Linked DNA regions of Homo sapiens: regions 1 and 2 are each linked to region 3. Evidence: promoter capture Hi-C in human tissues and cell types (Jung and others, 2019). All regions are on one chromosome and are shown on one strand. The core of a region is centred on a gene start or on the middle of the fragment in contact, and the rest is flanking DNA. Distances in the headings are between cores, read along the strand shown.

Region 1 (3,703 bases), core at 630-3,129, 170 kb before region 3:
CAAAAACAATCCATATATATTTTAACTGATAAATGGATGTCTTAAACCCCATCAATAACAGAAGGAGCCCCAACTCATCTGCTATGTACACTTATTTTGAAATAATAATTTGCTATAACTGTAAGAGATTCACAATCATACAAAAACAGCTGCAAATCTTATAATGATGTCTTTTAATTGCTATATTTTGTGGAGTTTTGGGGGGTATTTATTGCTTAAAAAAAAGTTTGTTTCACACAACAGGTAATGCCCATACACAATAAAAATTTAAAGGTAAAAAGATTATATAGTAATAAAAAAGTCTCCCTCTCTCCTCTATTTCTTGTCACCCATTCCTTTTCCTTAGAGACAGCTATTGTTACCCATTCACTTCTATTTTAGGTACATTAAGCACTTTTATATATGTCCTCATGTATTTAAATAAACGAGTGATAGATTATGTACAAGCTTCCATCCTTTTTTAAATTTTTAAATTTTTTGTTTTTATTTCAGTAGCTTTGGGGGTACAAGTGGTTTTTGGTTACATGGATGAATTCTACAGTGGTGACTTCTGAGATGTTAGTGTACCTGTCAACCAAGAAGTATAGACTGTACCCAATATACAGTCTTTTATCCCTCACCCTGTTCCCACCATGATGGCTATATTTTGAAAACATGTTATTTATCCAGTCCACAAAATCAGAAACTGCCCACAAAAATAAATAAAATCATGATAATTTGATCCTCTGGATTTTGTAATATGCAATTTTCTAGTAGGTTGTAATGACTAATTACCCTGGTAATACACTAACCTCAGATGTAAAACATAGAGTTTTCTCATGAATGATCCAGGAGACAGACGTAGGAAAATAAATGCATGTAAAACTTTTTAAATGCCATTAAGTCAGGCTGCTGCAGGTGACGCACACGGCTCTCACAGTGCTCTGGGTATCCCACATTGTGTTACATCTGGAACCCTTACGAGGCCACAGACTTTTTAAAAAAGCAAAGTTCAACCTCTATTTGTTTTGGTTTTGTCCTAATGTTCCTTGTGTTGAGATAAATACCTTTTTAGCATAAGTTATGGATGATATAATGTATTTAAGTAAAAGAGGCTTAAATTTTTCCTATGAAAATGCCACCCAGAATTAAGATATTTTACTTGAAATTTTAGTTTGTATCTGGTTCTTTAGGATTCTGCACACAGTAAAAGCTGTCTTTCCAGAGGGACCACCCAGTGTACTGAACTGTGGCATAGCATATGACTCCACTTGCATCAGATCACACCACTGAACACCCACTGCATCCACAGAAACGTTCAAAGACTAAGAGGCAAATGCAGACTCAGCATGAGTGAGAGAAAAAGAGGAGAGTGAGGCAGAGACCTTGTGATCTTGGAGCAGTTGTAAAGTTCAAGAATGAATGACTCCACTGGAAATATAGGACAACACCAAGTTTCTGAGAACTTATCAGGGCAGTTTCTACACAAAACCTGTTGCAAGCATCCCAGAGAATCACTTTTGAAATGGAAAGAAAGGCCCAGAGCCAATAGAAAAGAGCTGTTTGGAGGATTCCAGCTGCTACTGGATTCACCAGTAGCCACTTTAGAACAACTAAATCATGGTCAGAACAGGTAGCAAGGAAATGCACAAACTGTGCTGCATTCCACAGGTGCCAAAATGTAAAGTTATATGCTGGAAGCACAGAGCCAGTGCCTGGAGAAAACGTACTTGAATTGTGGTTTGAAATATCTAAGAAAATATTATAGAAAGAGGATGTCTTGGAGACGTAAAAACAAAGAATTATTGAGAGTTTAGCAAATAGAACATAGGTCATAGGTCATAGAATGAGTCTGAATTAGTAGAGAATTGAAGGAAATGTATCTCAAGCTCCAAACCACCTGGCAAAAAGTAGACAGAAAGACTTCTAATTAAGAGAAGAATGGAATACAATGCAGAAAACTGGGTATATTCCACCAAATTGTCCAAGGGAAGCATTTACAGTCAAACACTGGTTCCTAACCTCAAGCTTTGTAATATGCCTGAGGCCCAAGAAATCCAGAGTTCTTCTGCTTAAGCACTTAATTTTAAAAGAAAAGTAAAAATCTGAGGTGATCAAGAAGGATTAAAGACCCACAACACTCAGTCTATTCAGAGACCAAGCTCAAAACCTGATGGCCAATACAGAAAGTAACTGAGGTACTAGTGAGCACTCTGAAGCAGTGGGCATCAGTAAGTTCTAAGCTGCACCTTTGGACAAAGAGAGAGAGGTGGCAGTAGATATTATTAGTGCTCCCCATGACCCTAAGATCCCTTCATACCCTGTCCCAAGCTCACAAAGGCTCACACCTACCAGGAGGCTCAATCCTGACTGGTAACTCCAAGTTCTTTGGTATGAAATGGCTCCCCAGGGGCTCTTGGCCTTGTCCACCACAACCACTGGCATCATAAGCAGAATACAGGTATAAACTGAGAAGGAGTTATGCCACATGCTCTCTCACATGACATCATTTTCCAGACACTACCACCAGGTTCTGGTTCATGTTCCATAACCACAACATATGTAACTATTTTTTTGAGAAGGACTACTCATTTGAGAGCTTCATTGTGGTTAGCACCATAGATATGGGGCATAGCAGAAATGACTCCCATAACCAATCTAAATTTACCCACCAGAGGAGGGAAGGCTCATTATCTCCCTTTGGAAAGACTCAAACAGTTCCACAAGGGGCAGAAGCAGGACCAGTAACAGGACCAGTTATTCTCCTGTATCTGTGCTCTTTCTGAATCCTAGCACCTCCAAAGCTAAAATAATAAAAAAATAAAGGACTTTCAATGGTATAACTCAGGGTTTGGAAGCAGCTTGCTCACTCAACATAATAAGGGACAAGATTAAAGATAGCAAGCAATAACTCTGCAATTCTAAAAGTGTTGTTCTTGAAATGTTCCCTCTAGAAGACCTACCACAGAATCTGTCCCTTCCCCTGTCCAGCTGCACAACTGGGCAGAGCAGGGAATGGCTGATATGGTTTGCCTCTGTGTCCCCACCCAAACCTCACCATGAACTGCAATAATCCCCATGTGTAAATGGCAGGGCCAGCTGGAGATAATTAAATCATTGGGGCAGTTTACCCAATACTGTTCTCGTGGTAGTGAATAAGTTTTACAAGGTCTGATGGTTTTATAAACGGGAGTTCTCTTGCACAAGCTCTCTTGCCTGCCACCATGTAAAACATGCCTCTGCTTCTCCTTTGCCTTCCACCATGATTGTGAGGCTGCCCCAGCCATATGGAACTGTGAGACCATTAAACTTCCTTCCTGGCTGGGCATGGTGACTCACATCTGTAATCCTAGAACTTTGGGAGGCCGAGGCCAGCAGATCACTTCAGGTCAGGAATTCAAGACCAGCCTGGCCAACATGGTAGAACCCCGTCTCTACTAAAAATACAAAAATTAGCCAGGTGTGGTGGCATGCACCTGTAATCCCAGCTACTTGGGAGGCTGAGGCAGGAGAACCTCTTGAACCCAGGAGATGGAGGTTGCAGTGAGCTGAGATCGTGCCACTGCACTCCAGCCTGGGTGACAGAGGGAGACTCCTTCTCAAAAAAAAAAAAAAAACAAAAAAACCTCCTTCCTTTATAAATTACTCAGTCTCAGGTATGTCTTTATTAGCAGCATGACAACAGACTAATACAATGGCTGACAATCCGAAATGAAGACGAGAC
Region 2 (3,542 bases), core at 853-3,352, 150 kb before region 3:
TGCTTTAAGGTCATTTCTGAGATCAACAAACCTGTCCATGACCTTGTGACTGAATATTTTGGGATCATAACTAAACATCGATAATAGTTTGGATTCATAGCAAACATCTGCACATTCACTTTGAAATACAGCGAAGCATTCTAAATATGATCTGGATGAAAATCTGTATGTGTTTTATTTATTAAAGTTAAACTGGCCAGGAAAAGATAAGCATTTATCATTGCAATAGTAAAGTGATGCAATAATATATGATGATTTTGGAAGCTGTTCATTTCATTGCATGCCCAAAAATAAAATACTTACAAAGAATCAAACACATGAAAAAAATAAACTGAAATTAATAAAAATCTCAAAAGAAAGTAGGTTGGCCAGCTGTTTCTAAAAATCTATATGGTAATATAAGGAAACAACAAGGATTATATAATAATTCTAATCTTTGCAGAGTTGTTTACAGTACTCTTCATAACATTAAATAAAATGATTTTTAAGATCTGTGTTTAATTTTTAAAGTAATTAAATTTAAGCCAGAAACCTTTAAGGAAGGTCTGTTTGAGAATTTTTCACATCTTTTAAGAATGAATTAAAAGGAGAATTTCAACTCTGTACAGACGTCATTTGGTGATGGTTGTATTTGGCCTTCAAAAAATGTTGATTTTAACATTTGGCCATTTGGCAACTATTCAATACACCTCTAATTCAGATAAATTATTTATTCCTGTTTTTAACATTTGAACATTCTCGCCAACTCCCACTTGAAAAAATAAATAAGTGGTTTATTTTCTCCAATTTTGCCCTGAAGGATGACTGGAGATCATGTTGTCAGTGGAGCCCTTTTTGGGGATTACTAGCACTTTCTACTACTCTTCACCAGCTCTTTAGGTCAGAGGCAAAGGGGAGAGGGTTATATGCAGATGAAAGGCACCCTAGTGTCTCTACTGCATCCTCTGAACCTCTTGTTAACATACCTTACCTGAACAAGCCTGTTCTTGCCCAAACCTCCATCTTACAAAATATCTACTAAGAAAAGGGGGCGAGGACGGCTAGGACGACTCTAACAAGTTATAATATTATAAGATCAAATCCAAAGAGCTGGACTTTTCCTGTGGCCTCTCTTCCTAGGCCTTTGCTTTCAACATCCAACACTTTCAGGCCCTTCCTGTACGAACTGAGCAATGTGCTTCCTCTCATCACATGCCTGTAACTTTCTGGCTGGAGAGATCGAACCGATGTTGGAGACAAATTAAAAAAAAAAAGAGCGGAGAAAAAAGGTATAGACACTCAAAGATCATCTGGTTGGCACCTCCCTGAAGGCACATATAATACATTCCAGAAGGAGGGAAGGAAATCCTGGGCGTATGAATGAGATTCTACGGCCTGCGTGGAGCGGCGCTCTGGGCTGCTCCTCCCATCCCCGCATGGAAAGTTAGGCGTTTCTAGCCACATTAATTCATCCTAAAGGAAAAGAGGCGACAGCGGAGCAGCGTGCGCGCGGGGGAAAACACCCGCCCACGCGTGCCTTCGCCAACGCAAAGACGCAGCTCACACCCGTAACCGAGGAAGAGGGAGGCTCCCGCCGCGCTCACTTCCTGCGGGAGAGAGGAAAGACATCTTGCGGCAGGGAGGCCGGTGGCAGTTCCGCCCCTGGACCGGCCGGCAGCGGAGCGCACCCCGCCGCCACCTACGTGGCGCTGCCTGCTCGGGTGGCGCAGCGAGTAAAGGCCACCCCCGCCGTGCCCCGCGGTCCCCGGCCTTCCCACGGACGCCTGGCCCGGCCCGGGCGAGGGGCGACCGGGGTGAAGCCCGCCGCGCCCCGGGCCCTGCGGCAGGGCGACTCCGGGAGGCACAGGGCGCGCGAGGTGCAGGGGCGCGCAGGCCGCCGCCGGGTCACCCACCTTTCGCACTCTGCGGGCCGTGTAGAGCCCCATGCCGTCCTGAACCCGGGAGGACTTCAGGGAGAACCTGTCCGGCACGTACATGCCCAGCATTTTCCCGGGCGCGGCGGCCGCCGCCTCTCTCAACACCGGCGCTTAGCGCCCGGCAGGCGGCACATCGAAATTTGGGGTGCCAGGGTAGAGGGGAGAAACCGGCAGGGAAGGAGGAAATGGAGTTTTCCTCCCAGAATCCCCACCTCCCTGCCGATTCCAGGATCCCCCGCGGCTCAGCCCCTCCTCGTCCCGGGTCGGGCTCGGCCCGGATCCGTTCCTGCCATTCCTGCTGCGGGGGCGCGGGGGGCGCGGGCCTGGGCGCTGCGGGCGCCGGGACGCCGCTCGCTGATTGGCCCGAAGTTGGCGGCTCTGACCCGCGCCCGGGCGCGAAGCCCGGAGCAGGGCTGACCCCAGGGCCTCAAACCCGGAGGCCCGCGAGCTGCGCGGGCCGTCAGCACCCCTAGCCCCGGCGCGGCGGCGTGCGTTCCCGCCTTTGTCCAGCTCTGGGTTTTCAAACCTTGCCCCGCTGAACCATTACTCCCTGTAGGGGAGTCTCGCTTGCTTCTCTTCAGATGCAAAACGAAATGGACCTTCACACAGCTGGGGCATCCTCCAAAACAACTTTATCAAGTTCCTGACTCTGAAAGCCAGCTTATTGCCGACTACTGAGAACGAACCCTGCGGTCTAGGAAATTTCCGTGCTTCTCACATTTGAGTTATGCGTCTTTGCTTTTTTTCACGTTTGTTGCAGAGGCTAGAACTTAATAAGGGATCGCAAAGTATGTTGATTAACGTACGGAAAAATATGTTGCAAACAATTTAATGTTTTAAGCACTAGAAACTAGATATTTTATGGTAACATAACCTCTGGGAAGTTCTTATACTTCTCAAGGTACAATATTCCTGAGACCTCCCTTGCTTGATAATCATTAGACGTATTACGGATTTTCAGACATACGGAAGTGGATTTGTGGGAGACAGGAGGGGACACCCAAACAATAGCATCTGGTGTCACAACAATGCAATAAAGTCACAAGTCTTGTTTTAGTGTTTTTAATAAGCTGTTAGGCTGTGCAGTGTGCCCAGGACCTTTAAAAGCCTGTTTCATCCTTCAAAGTGATCCTGGGGTCATCTACTCATTTCTCTTGATATTTATGGTAATTTTCTACTCTAGGGTCTTTTCTCGGAAACCATTTGATGTTCTTAATTGATGTTCTCATAAACCATTAAAAGCACACACAAAAGTTTGACAAAATTACAGACTACACACACACACCATGGAAACGATTCCTGTTTCTGCAGGAAACCCTTGGAACATAGTTCCTAAGCAGATTTTTTTTTTTTTTTTTTTTTGACAGGGTCTAGCTATGTCTCCCAGGTTGATCTTGAACTCCTGGGCTTAAGGGATCCTCCGGCGGCGTTGGCCTCCTGAAGTGCTGGGATTACACACTTGAGCTACCACACCCGGCCCCTATGTAGATTTTGATTCAAGTTTGGAAAAAGGTTTAAAAAACAAGAACAAAAGGCATTATGGGAAAAAAAAATCATGTAGTGGCAATATTCGGAGACTTTAAGGAACACAGTAAATGATGACATGATCCTCTTTCTAAGAAATGT
Region 3 (3,438 bases), core at 590-3,089:
AAGTTGCTAAAAAGAACTCTGTAAATAAATTTAAAGAAAAGAAGGAAAAAACATAACAACAACAACAAAACCCAGACATACACTCAGGTTCATTTCCCGCTCAAGGTCTTGGTTTTAGGGAGCCACCCGTACCCAAGAGCAAGAAATGGACAGCGCCCCGAAGGGGGCCAGGAGGGGAACCGCAACTTGGCCGGAGGGACAGCTCAGAGACAGCGTAGAGGTGCCCGCGGCAAACTCCGAGGAGCTGATGCGGGGCGGGTCCGGGGAACTGCCGGGAGCTCTCACGCCTGGGCCTGGGATAGGGTGCGGGCAGAAAGGTGAACCGAGAGCGCACAATGCAACGAAACCGCACTCCAAATTCAGCAGTTTGCAAAGTGCCTCCAAGAAAACAGCTGGGACCTGCAATCACTCGTTCGGACTCCTAGGTTATCGGGGCCGCGGCGACTCCGCTCAGTTAGAAAGGTAGCGCGGGTGAGAGCGAACCCCAACTCACGCACAGACAGGACGAGGGCACGAAGCCGAGTCTCCTGGCTGGGGCCGTAGGGGGCGTCACCTCGGTGGCCGCTCTGCTCTCCGGAAGAAAGTATGAGCCGGTCCCAGGCCACCTCGCTCAGCCCAAGGAAGTTTCTATAACGATGCTCGCCTACCACGCAGAGGACAAATGAGGAGCCAGAGCGGTTGGGGGTCGGGCCAACCGAACTCCCGGCCCCGGCTGCGCAGCTCCCAGACGCCCACCAAGAACTCGTGCGCTGCCTGGACCTCTAGCTTTTCGCCCTACACGCAGACGCCCTCTGCAAAACCCCAGTCCCGCAGACTTTCCCTAGCGGCGGGCGGAGGGCATGAACCTGGAAAGGGAGGCAACAGCCCTCTTGGCAGGCGGGCAAAGTAAGTGTCCAGGCTAAGTCCGGGATAAAGGCTCCGCGGCTCCCCAGACCCCACTGCACCCCGAGCTCCCGGGTCCCAGGTCTTCCCCGCCCTTGCGCTGTCTGTCCACCTCCTCACATCTCTCCGGGCCGCCCAGCTTCGAAAGCAGCTAAATTAAAAACAAACAAACAAACAAACAACAACAACAATAAAAAAAAAAAAACGAGGGAAACCTGCTCCTGCCCCTCATGCCCTCAGCTCCTACGGATAGGGCGCCCTTGAGAAGCTTCTTGGGCCTTGAAGATTTGGGGGCGCGTGCCTCGAGCCCCCATCTCGGATGACCCTTCGGGCGTGAACGCTCCTTGTGCTAGGTCTCAGGGTGGCGGGCTAAGGCGTCGGGTCTCTGGGGCATTGCTTTCCTCTCCCCACTTACCTTAAAAAGATCTGTTTTTCGTAGGGAAAATAGAAAAAAATCCCTCCCCGTGGTGTGGTGTGCGAAATAGTCCACGTCCCCGGACCCTGCCAAGATGCTAAGCACCAATATCCAGGAACGAGAAGCCTGGAGGGCGGGGACGGAGGCAGATAAAAGAGAAAAATTCAATCCGCTGAAGTGTCCCAACTTTGCGGTCGGCACAGCAAACTTCAAAGGCGGGCGAGGGCGGGCGGCGCGCGGTCGCCGAAGTTGCTGCGAAGTGGAGTAGGGAGCCGCGCGGGGCTGGGGAATCCCGGGGCAGCGCCGAGAAGCGGCGGGAGGTCCTTTTAAACTGCAGGGAGCGTGCGGGGGCTGGGCGGCGGGAGGATGCCGCAGCGACCCGCGGGGCTGGCGCGGGCTTCGCCGGCCGCCGCTAGTCGCACAGGCGCCTGGCTGGAGCGCCGCGCGGGGTGCTGGGAGAGCCGGGCGCACGGGGCGGCAGCGGCCGTGGCGGGTGCGCTGCTCAGTTAGCTCCACTCTCTCGCGGCTGGAAGTGGGGAGTGTGTGTTCGCTCCCGAGTGTCACTGCTGAAGCCCGGAGTCTCTTCCCCTCCCAGCCCTAACCCCTCCCGCCTCACCGCTGCCCGCCCGCCCCCTCCCTCCTCTGCCCGTTGCCTCCCCCTCCGTCCCTCCTTCTCTCCCTCCCGCTGCGCGCCAGCGCGCACGCACACACACACACACACACACACACTCATACACATACACACACTCACACACAGACACCCTCTCCCTCCTTTTCTCTCTCCCTGTAGCCCTCCCTCCCTCTCTTTCTCTCACACACACACCACCCTGCTCAGCGACCCAGCGCTCCCCAAACAGGACCCTCGCGGGCGGCATCGCGAGGGACACGCTGCTGTCCTAACCTTAGCGCCACTCGGGGAGAATGAAGGAGGCCCACCGAGCCCCCGACAAAGCTGCAAAACCCAGGAGACGCGCACGCGGGACCATCACACTGTCAAGCAGACCGGGGTGCACAATAGAGGGAAACTCTGGGGTTGATCTGGGGGCAGGGAGGGGGACGTGTTAAATCCAGAAGGTTGGTGGTTGGAGGCGGAAAGCAGAGTGTGCAAACTGTGCATTCATGTCCCACTTTTCACCCGAACGCCTGCCTATCACAGCCTTCACTCAGGGAGCGCTTCCCCCTCGGCGCAGACCGAGCCTCCTCCGATTTGAAACTCAGCAGCTGTTTTAACAATTGAAAAAGCGGCCCTACAGGACCAGTGAAACGGAGCAGAGTGTGTGAAGCCATTAAGGCTGACTAGGTAATTATGATAAAAAGTTACCTAATTAGCAACCTGGCCTGGGCTTAGGAAAACCAAGAAAAAAAAAGTACCGAATGATTTGGTGATCTCATTTTTGCAACTGAGAACCTGATTTCCAGCAAACCTGGTTTTATATAAGTTCTAATAATATATAATTATTTATTAAGATATAGTGTCAGTATTGAAAACACTAGTTCTGTTATTGCCACAATGAAATTAAGGTAGGTAGGATGAAAATCAGCCTTATCCCGGTCATATTAAGAACTATGATCTTTTTTGCTAAACAGTTGGTCACAGAGGGTGGACCAATGCAGCTCCTAAAGTTTTGTGGTTCCTAGATGAAAACACTGCAGGAAATGGATTTATAAAACCGTTTACACGACATAAAATAGTTTTGTAAAATTTTTAAACACTGAAAAGGACATTTCAGATCACTGTGCAAGCATATTTTTTGCAGATGAGACAATGAGGTGAGAAAAGTCCTCATTGTATCTCCACTTAGGAGATACGATCTAGAGCAGATCCCTGGGTCATTCATTAACAAAGCTTACGAAGTCCCTGCTGTGTACCAGGTATGTCTTATGTGCTGAGATTTAGAGGTGATGGTGCTGCCTTTAAGGAACTCACCGCCTGGTGAGGAGACAGAGGCATAAATGAAAATGTGATTAGCACTATAATAAGTGCAGGTACCTGGTCCTGTGGAAGCATGGAAAAGGAAACAGCTAACTCCCCTTCAGAAGCTTCTCTTGGTAGAGATTTCAGTGTAGAGTTCTGAAAGACAAGGAAGAAATACAAGGCCAACAAGGATGTGGTGGAGGGGGGAGGGCATTCCACAAACAGA

What was found. The method cuts DNA at HindIII sites, captures the fragments that hold promoters and counts their contacts. A contact is called where the count stands out against the background at its distance.
Region 1: a fragment that was not itself captured here is called in contact with the fragment with the promoter of NDNF in region 3 in 2 of the 25 tissues and cell types used here (mesendoderm cells and stomach).
Region 2: the fragment with the promoter of PRDM5 here is called in contact with the fragment with the promoter of NDNF in region 3 in 1 of the 25 tissues and cell types used here (ovary).

Annotation. Positions count from the first base shown.
Region 1 is chr4:120,900,610-120,904,312 of GRCh38, forward strand. The region is part of intron 2 of PRDM5 (PR/SET domain 5); the gene reads right to left. Among named protein-coding and RNA genes, the nearest start is that of PRDM5, 20 kb to the right of the region's middle. The HindIII fragment of the contact is 6,197 bases long and covers 1-3,703 here.
Region 2 is chr4:120,920,624-120,924,165 of GRCh38, forward strand. PRDM5 (PR/SET domain 5) reads right to left here and starts at 2,103. Exons shown (of 16, transcript NM_018699.4): 1 at 1,893-2,103. The coding sequence starts at 1,985. LOC105377399 (a long non-coding RNA gene) reads left to right here and starts at 2,313. Exons shown (of 2, transcript XR_001741804.2): 1 at 2,313-2,704. The HindIII fragment of the contact is 5,313 bases long and covers 1-3,542 here.
Region 3 is chr4:121,070,696-121,074,133 of GRCh38, forward strand. It overlaps NDNF (neuron derived neurotrophic factor), which reads right to left and starts at 1,840. Exons shown (of 4, transcript NM_024574.4): 1 at 1,298-1,840. NDNF-AS1 (NDNF antisense RNA 1) reads left to right here and starts at 667. Exons shown (of 3, transcript NR_187407.1): 1 at 667-885; 2 at 3,055-3,169. The HindIII fragment of the contact is 5,612 bases long and covers 1-3,438 here.